Regions from separate parts of the Homo sapiens genome. Here region 2 is linked to region 1. Evidence: promoter capture Hi-C in human tissues and cell types (Jung and others, 2019). All regions are on one chromosome and are shown on one strand. The core of a region is centred on a gene start or on the middle of the fragment in contact, and the rest is flanking DNA. Distances in the headings are between cores, read along the strand shown.

Region 1 (4,203 bases), core at 513-3,012:
TTTTGTGCGTGTGTGAGATGGGGTCTTACTCTGTCACCCAGGCTGGAGTGCAGTGGCACCATCTTGGCTCACTGCAACCTCCACCTCCTGGGTTCAAGCGATTCTCATGCCTTAGCCTCCCGAGTAGTTAAGACCACAAGCAAGTGCCACCACACCCAGCTAATTTTTGTATTTTTGTAGAAATGGGGTTTCACTATGTTGGCCAGGCTGGTCTCAAACCCCCGACCTCAAGTAATCTGCCCACCTCGGCCTCCCAAAGTGCTGGGATTACAGGTGTGAGCCACCTTGCGCCCTGGGCTGTAGTGTTATTTTTGTGGCAAAAAAATTGAAACCCTAAAATTCTGACTGCAGTGGAAGGGTAAGTGTATTTCAAGCCCTAGTGATACAGACCAACTTGGAAGCTTCAGACAGGAAAAGTTTGCTAGATAGTTATTTATTTTTAACTAAGCATGTACTTTTATGTATCTCCCATATGGCATGGAACACCTGCTCACTGCAGCCTGGAGCTCCTGGGCTCAAGTGATCCTCCCACCTCAGCCTTCTGAGTAGCTTGGACAGCAGGCGCGTGTCACCACATCAGTTAATTTTTGTTATTTTTTGTAGAGAGGGGGTCTCAATATGTTGCCCAGGCATTATGGATTTTATGCATTCGGGACCATCCCATGCTTAAAGCATGACAGAACCCGGCGGCATATTTTTCTCTGCCGCAGCTTTCAGTGCAGGGGCACCTCACAGGCAGGGCGGGGTCAAGGCTCTGTCCAGACAATGGCTGCAGAGTAAAAAGCACTTCCATTTATGGGGGTCAAGGGCGAGGGGAGGGAGAAAGGAGCAGGGAAAGAGGAGAAGTGGCCACATGTACTTTGATTTGTTTTTTGCTTTTTGTTACATGTACTTTTGAAGCAGTATTTAGAAGTAGCCTCTCCTACAGCCCCTGCTGTAGCTTGTCTCCTAGCTGTGAGGTGAGTTATTCAGTACCCTCTAACGTAAAAATGACCTTCAGACAGACAGACAGACACACACACACACACACACACACACACAGAGGAAAACAGCTCTGTCATCCACTTTTTCTTCCTTTCCCGTCCCCAGACCCTCGATTCTCTCTTTAAAATGACTGCTGTGAAGATAACGTAACACAGAGTAATACTAATGACAAATTATCAAAAAAGAAAAAAAAAATAAAAATCTTTATTAGTGTTTTTTAAAATGACGTAAAAGACTATGGGAAAAAATGCCAACAATAGTTATGTATAACTTTTTTGTTCATATTTCCAAAACGTTTATAACATACATAACTTTAAAAGAAAAATAATTTAAAAAATACATATCTGAAAATGAAACCCCGCTGTTTGCCAACGACCAGCTGGCTTAATCTGACTTCGCAGATGTAGCAGTGTTGGAAAACGTCGGTTCTTTTGCTGAGGGAAGGAAGAGATGGGAGGGGTAGAAAGGGCGGTGGTTATTCCCTTTAGTATTTCGATCCGGTCACACAACCTAAATCCAACATCTGCATCAAATGTCTCCTTTCCGAAATACTCTCCCTAAAATGACAGAGAACCTGGCCAGGCGGACAGAACGGCCCCTGCGCATTTGCAGGGGTCCTGGTGGGCTTGCCGGGCAGAGGGCGTGCGGGTCTCAGCAAGCTGCCGGGTCCGCCCAGGCCCCGCCCCATGCCCATTCAGGCCCCGCCCCCGACCCGCAGGCCCCGCCCCCGACCCGCCCCGTCCGCCTCCGTCACGTGATGGGGCGCCGGGTCCAGCCTGTTGCTGATGCTGCCGTGCGGTACTTGTCATGGAGCTGGCACTGCGGCGCTCTCCCGTCCCGCGGTGGTTGCTGCTGCTGCCGCTGCTGCTGGGCCTGAACGCAGGTAGGTTCAAGCAAGAGGCGCACCAGCTGCCATGCCTCTTTTTTCTCCAGGCGTGAGAGTTTGTTACTGGGTTTGTGCTTTTGAAAACATGTCTCTTTTCCCCGGTTCTTACCTTGTGTAATTATATTGCTTTTGAATCTCACTCTTTTTTTTTTTTTTCCTTAAAAAATTCAAAGTGCTTTTTTTGTCCTTTTCTGGCTCTGGGTGGTCTGAGTGCTTCCGTTCTCTCCTACGCCTAGATAGAAGCTGTGTGCAGAAATGTATGATTTGGGGAAACTGCTGGTCAATGAGGTTTCCCCGATTCAAAGGCCATGATTGGCTGCTAAATGAGGATATAAGGTCGTTTTATTTTAAGCTGAAATCTGCGGTCAAAAGTACCCTTACATCCTACCACGAATGGGACATTTCATTGAGATAAGGCCCTTTCTTTTCTTGATCAAAACAAACAAGATAACATCTTCCCCCACAGCGATCTTTTTTGGCAAAAAACAGATTTGTGTTTAATAGGATGACTTGCAAATTGATTTTCAGCAAAACCTCTCCTAGTCTGAAGCAAGCACTGAGAATTGGAACTGGCCACAAGCTTGCCTTGTGACCTTAGGCAAGTTGTTGAACAGTTTTGTTTTCCTTTTCTAAAATGGGGATCATCTGGCCCTTAGGCGAGTGTCTGGGAGATTTTGTAAAATAAGTAGCTCTGCCAATTTTACCAGTAGTCACTGCCAGGCAAGGGAGAAGTGCCTGGGGTTAGGTCAAAAGGTACCTGCGCCTTATCTGTCATTCTCAAGGGAGCGCAGCCTTATCTGTTATTGTCAAGGACAATATAATCGTGTGTTACTTGTATATAGAACCTTATAGCTAAGTCTGTAATGTTTTAGTCATCTGTTTTGCTCCTCAGGACACTTTCTGGTTTTCTTAATCTTCATTGTTGTTTTGTTTTGAGTCAGGGTCTCACTATGTTGCCCAGGCTGGTCTGGAACTGCCTGACTCAAGTGATCTTCCTACTTCAGCATCCCAAGTAGCCCGGACTGCAGACACAGGCCACCACCCTGGCTCTTTCTTATTTACAAGACGTTGTCTCATTGTCTTCCTCTCTACTCCTGTCTCTTTAGCTGTTGGGACCAGTGTTCTTTTACTGACCAATGGGGCTTGAAATTTGAGAAGGGAGGAAATAGAAGGCAGAAAACTCCAGTCACCGAGGGGATCCCCCCCATCATCTTTTAACAACAGCCCCTCTACTTTTTTTTTTCCCAGAGTGGTTTTGGAGGAAAAAAAAAAAGATGCTATAACTTGGAAATTGTTACGTTAGCAAAAAGTGACAAAGAAAATGTATTTAGCCTACTCTTTTCTAAAACATATTTTGTGGATGCTAGAAAAGTTAAGTAAGGAAAATTGGAGTTAGGGGATTATAGGATACGTATATTAAACACACATACACAGATATATATCGTTCAGTTTAAAAAAATCATCTACATGAGTTAGGAAAATTGCCCTTTTTCATATTTGTTGTAGCTCTTTCCTTGCTGTTTGCCTTTTTATTTTTGATTTACAGAAATTTTGTTGTATAGAAATATAACAAGTTTCTGTTCTCACCTCCATCATTGTTTCTTTTGTACAGTCTCTGGGGTTTGCTTAGATTCTTTCCTCATCCAGACATTAGAAATATATTTAACTATATTTTTGTATTTTTTTAATGTTTAAAGTTTAAAATTTAATTGCTTGATCCTCATGGAACTTATTTCGTTTATAGTGTTGAGAGGACCTAAATTTCTCTTTTTTTCTCCAAAAAAGGTAATTGTTGCTCCATTACTGTATATTGAATATTCTCAGCCCCACTAATTTGTGATGCCTCTTCACTCATGTTTTTTGTTTGTTTGGTTGGTTGGTTTTTTGTTTTTTTGAGATAGGATCTCCCTCTGTCACCTAGGCTGGAGTGCACTGGTGTGATCACAGCTCACTGCAGCCTCAACCTACTGGGCTCAAGCGATTCTCCTACCTCTGTCTCCTGAGTAGCTGGGACCACAGGCATATGCCACAATGCCCAGCTAATTTTTGCATTTTTTGTAGAGATGGGGTGTTGCTATGTTGCTTAGACTGGTTTTGAACTCCTATGCACAAGCTATCAGCCTGTCTTGGCCTTCCAAAGTGTTGGGATTACAGGAGTGAGCCACCAAGCCTGGTGTCTTACTCATGTATTAAATACGATATAAAAACCAGTATATTGCATTCTGAGATTTTTACTTTTTTACTCAAAATATAAATCTCTCTTGTTTTTACAGAATTATAAAAGTATTTCCTGTAATCCCAGCACTTTGGTAGGCCTAGGCGGGCAGATCACC
Region 2 (4,203 bases), core at 759-3,258, 1.2 Mb after region 1:
AACCTGGGGTACATACATCCCACCCCAATTCTATCCTGGGTTACATACACCCCACCCCAACTCCAACCTGGGGTACATGCACCCCACCCTGCCTCCAACCTAGGGTACATACAGCCCACCCCAACTCCAACCTGGGTTACATACACCCTACTCTGGCTCCAAGCTATGGTACATACACCCCACCCTGGCTCCAACCTAGGGTACATACACCCTACTCCAACTCCAACCTGGGTTATATACACCCCACCCTGGCTCCAAGCTGTGGTACATACACCCCATCCAGCTCCAACCTGGGGTACATGCATTCCACCTGGCTCCACCCGGGGAGCACCTGGCTCCCTGAGGGCCGGGAGGTGACACACAGCTGAGGAGTGCTGTGTGATTTATATAATCTCTCTCCTCCATGAGGCTCCCTGTCCCCATCTCACAGGTTTGGAAACAGGTCCATGGAGGGGTGTGATTTACCCAGTCACTCAGTGGGTCAGCATCAAGGAACCCAGTGTGCTTTCAGCTCCTACACAGTGACTTCTACCCAGGCCCCCCGTCACAGGAGAGGGGCCTCCGCTAAAGATAAGGAGATAAGATTAGGAGGGCTCAGGCCATCAACTGGAGCTTGTGAAAGGGGTTGCCGAAGAGAGGTGGTTGTTTCAAGAGCAACGGTTGGGCTGGTAACATTGCTGTGGGAGGAGGAGGCTGTGGAAGGCACCGGGCAGGGTTTCGGTAGGGTGTGGGGGTGGGGGAGGAGAAAGGACACTTGGAACAGCCTCCCTGGGAGTCTGGAGCAGGCACGGGGTCCACACTGAAGAAGGAATGGACGTGTCCTCCTGAAGAAGGGGCGAGGACACGCAGGCTGCTGGCCACAGTGGTGGTGACTCTGGAACTGTCTCAGGGATGAGCATGTGCTCTCCAGGCAGCCGGGATGAGGTCAGAGGCAAAGGATGAACCTGGCTCATCCAGGGCAGGGAACTACAGGAGGAAGGCTTAGGTGCAGAGAGGGTGGGCCCTGGCAGAAGGCCGACTGGGATGCACTCTGCACTTAAGGTGGAAATGGAGGCGCACTTAAGGTGGAAATGGAGGCTCACCCAAGGTCACGAAGCTAGTGACAGGGCTGGATTCAATCCAGGCCAATCAGACCCTGGTGCAGCACACTGCCTCTAAAGAAGCTACTTCTCACCAAGCCCAATAGGAACTCATAATTGAAATCTACTTCTCAGAGTAAACCTACTACTGATTGGCACCTAAGAAACTCCAAGAGAATAAAGCCCATGGCGGGCGCTTACTTTTAGGCTCTGCAGCAGCTCACTGGGCTGGGTGTTTTACCTGTGACATCTCGCCATGTCCCCAAAATGGCCCCATGAGGGATTTCACTGCCAGGCCCTGCCTCAGTCACAGCCTCACACTCTCCCTGGCACCTTGGAGGGAGTGAGTAGGGCTAGGGGATAAGGAGAGGGGCCAAATCATTCATCACAGATCATTCATTCACTCAACAAACACCTGCTAAGCACATACTAAATGCTGGGCTTTGAGCTGGGTATGGGGGGTGTGTATAACAGTAAGGCAGATTCAGTTTCTGCCCTGTTGCAGGAGGAGAGGCACCCTTCCAATCATCTGGCCCAACTCTCATTCTAGGGATGTGAAAACTGAGGCCTGGAGAGGGAAAGTGGCTTGCCCAAGGCCATGCAGCCAGGCGGTGGCGACTGAGGTGCACCGCTCCTGTCAGCCAACAAATATCCATTGAGCGACACCTGTGTCCCAGGTGCTGCTCTGGGCCCTGGGAGAAGTGCATCAGTGGGCTTGGTAGTAGAGGGTAGGGATGGAGTGAAGGGTAGGCAGGAAGAATGTCCCCAGGCTGGTAGGAGGTGGGGTGGGGGGTTTCAGTCTCAAAACTCCCATGAAAACCAGAGAGAAGTTTCAGAACTCCACCCAAGAGGCTGGGTTTCTAGGGCCCAGAGCTGCCCTCCCCCACCCTAGAATGGGCTATAAAAGTCCCTTCCCAGCTACGTCCAGAGAAGAGCTGGAGGAAGTGAGAGGTCGGCTGGGGGTCCTCAAAGTGAGAGGGGAGCAGAGGATCCTCCCGTGCAGGCTGTGGATGTCACTCACTTCCCAGCTGGTGAAGCCTCGCTGCAGAGATGCATCTGCTCCCAGCCCTGGCAGGGGTCCTGGCCACACTCGTCCTCGCCCAGCCCTGTGAGGGCACTGACCCAGGTAATAGTCCCCTAGACAGGCAAGGAGGAGGGAGGGGAAATGGAAGGGGAAGCACTTGGGTCTTGGAGGGGGTCTTGTGGCTTGCTGAACCCTGAGTCCCCATCTCTTTGAACAGCCTCCCCTGGGGCAGTGGAGACCTCGGTCCTGCGAGACTGCATAGCAGAGGCCAAGTTGCTGGTGGATGCTGCCTACAATTGGACCCAGAAGAGGTGGACTTGGGTCTGGGGGCTGCATGGGCCTGGGAGGATCAGTGAGGGGCATGGGCCCCAGCCAAGTTCATCTCACTCATCAGCCACCTCTGGACCCCATGAACATTTCCTGTTGGTAGAGCCTCCCTTCCATCCATCCTTCTGTCCGCTTGCCCTGTCCTGACTGTGCCCCAGGACTGGGTCTCTGCTGGGTGGGTCTGCACCCTCTCTCCAGCCCTCACTCCTCCTCTCCTGGGCAGCATCAAGCAGCGGCTTCGCAGCGGTTCAGCCAGCCCCATGGACCTCCTGTCCTACTTCAAACAACCGGTAGCAGCCACCAGGACAGTTGTTCGGGCCGCAGATTATATGCATGTGGCTTTGGGGCTGCTTGAAGAGAAGTTACAACCCCAGCGGTCCGGACCCTTCAATGTCACTGGTACTCTGATCCCCACTGAGCCCGCTGGGCCTACCCTGGCCTGGAGTAGAAGGAATCCAGGAGAGGGAGGCAGGGTGCACAGGTTTGGGGTGCTGGGAGGAGAGAGGGTAAAGGGATGGGAGGTACAGAGCAGGCCAGCTCAGGTCTGCCCATTTGCCTTCCCACAGATGTGCTAACAGAACCACAGCTGCGGCTGCTGTCCCAGGCCAGTGGCTGTGCTCTCCGGGACCAGGCCGAGCGCTGCAGCGACAAGTACCGCACCATCACTGGACGGTGCAACAACAAGTGCGTGCGGGGCGGCAGGAGGGGCTGCCCCTGCCTGGGGGACCTCTCCCTTCCTGCACCCACCCTCTCCCTCCATGCTGAGCCATCTCCAGGCCCTGCCCCCTGCTAACCTATCCCACCCATGGCTGCAGGAGGAGACCCTTGCTAGGGGCCTCCAACCAGGCTCTGGCTCGCTGGCTGCCCGCCGAGTATGAGGATGGGCTGTCGCTCCCCTTCGGCTGGACCCCCAGCAGGAGGCGCAATGGCTTCCTTCTCCCTCTTGTGAGTTGGGGCTGAGGGTTTGGGAGGTTGCTTGATCTCTTAAATGCGGGGAGTAAAACACAGCCCAGAGTCACGCAGGCAGGGCTTGAACCCAGGCCCTTCCACTGACCAGTGCAGTGACTTGAGGCAAATAACACAGCTTTCTGAGGCTTAGTTTCCTCATCTGTAAAATGGCCCTAAAACCTACCTCGTAGAGCCTGTGTGGATATTGAAGTCCTTGGTATAAATAGCTATAGAGGACATGATCTATTCATGCTAACCATTACGGTGTTGTACGGTTTTTTCTGAGAAAATTAGTGTCAAAGTCTTGCTAAATATAAACAGCTCTATACCTTAATCTGGCTTTATCTATTGATCTATTTCACATTTATCAACTCATCAGTTTTCTATTGATATATCGATAGAGCAGTCTATCATCTACCCATCTATCAACATCTATTAATTAATTTTCTTCTATCCACCCTTCCATCTGCTGACCCCGTACTCCCTACGTGTATTATCCATCACCTGGCAACCAGCCCATGCACCTGTGAATCCGTGCTATCATCTGGTTAGCTATCAGTGTACAAATTGATCTATCTATTTGATCTCCCTTCCCCTCTGGGAGAGCTGGTGAGGTCTGAGCCAGTCAACCTAGCCCCTCTCCTTCTCTTTACCACCGGAATCCTCAGGAGCCCAGCCAGAAACCATCCTTCTAGGAATGAGAGCAGGAGGTGGCTACGCCTCCAGGGACAAAAGGGGCATGGAGGGCAGAAGAGGAGAGGCTGTCAATTCCAGCAGGGGAGCTGCTGCTCCCTGAGTCCTGGGTTGGCTCTAATACCTTGTGGG

Evidence for each region. Contacts are between HindIII fragments. The study calls those that stand out against the background at their distance.
Region 2: the fragment with the promoter of EPX here is called in contact with the fragment with the promoter of SCPEP1 in region 1 in 1 of the 25 tissues and cell types used here (small bowel).

Annotation. Positions count from the first base shown.
Region 1 is chr17:56,976,369-56,980,571 of GRCh38, forward strand. SCPEP1 (serine carboxypeptidase 1) reads left to right here and starts at 1,763. Exons shown (of 13, transcript NM_021626.3): 1 at 1,763-1,867. The coding sequence starts at 1,792. RefSeq lists a silencer at 1,646-1,705. The HindIII fragment of the contact is 4,443 bases long and covers 1-4,203 here.
Region 2 is chr17:58,190,718-58,194,920 of GRCh38, forward strand. It overlaps EPX (eosinophil peroxidase), which reads left to right and starts at 2,009. Exons shown (of 13, transcript NM_000502.6): 1 at 2,009-2,205; 2 at 2,321-2,414; 3 at 2,654-2,829; 4 at 2,997-3,114; 5 at 3,246-3,375. The coding sequence starts at 2,130. The HindIII fragment of the contact is 10,445 bases long and covers 1-4,203 here.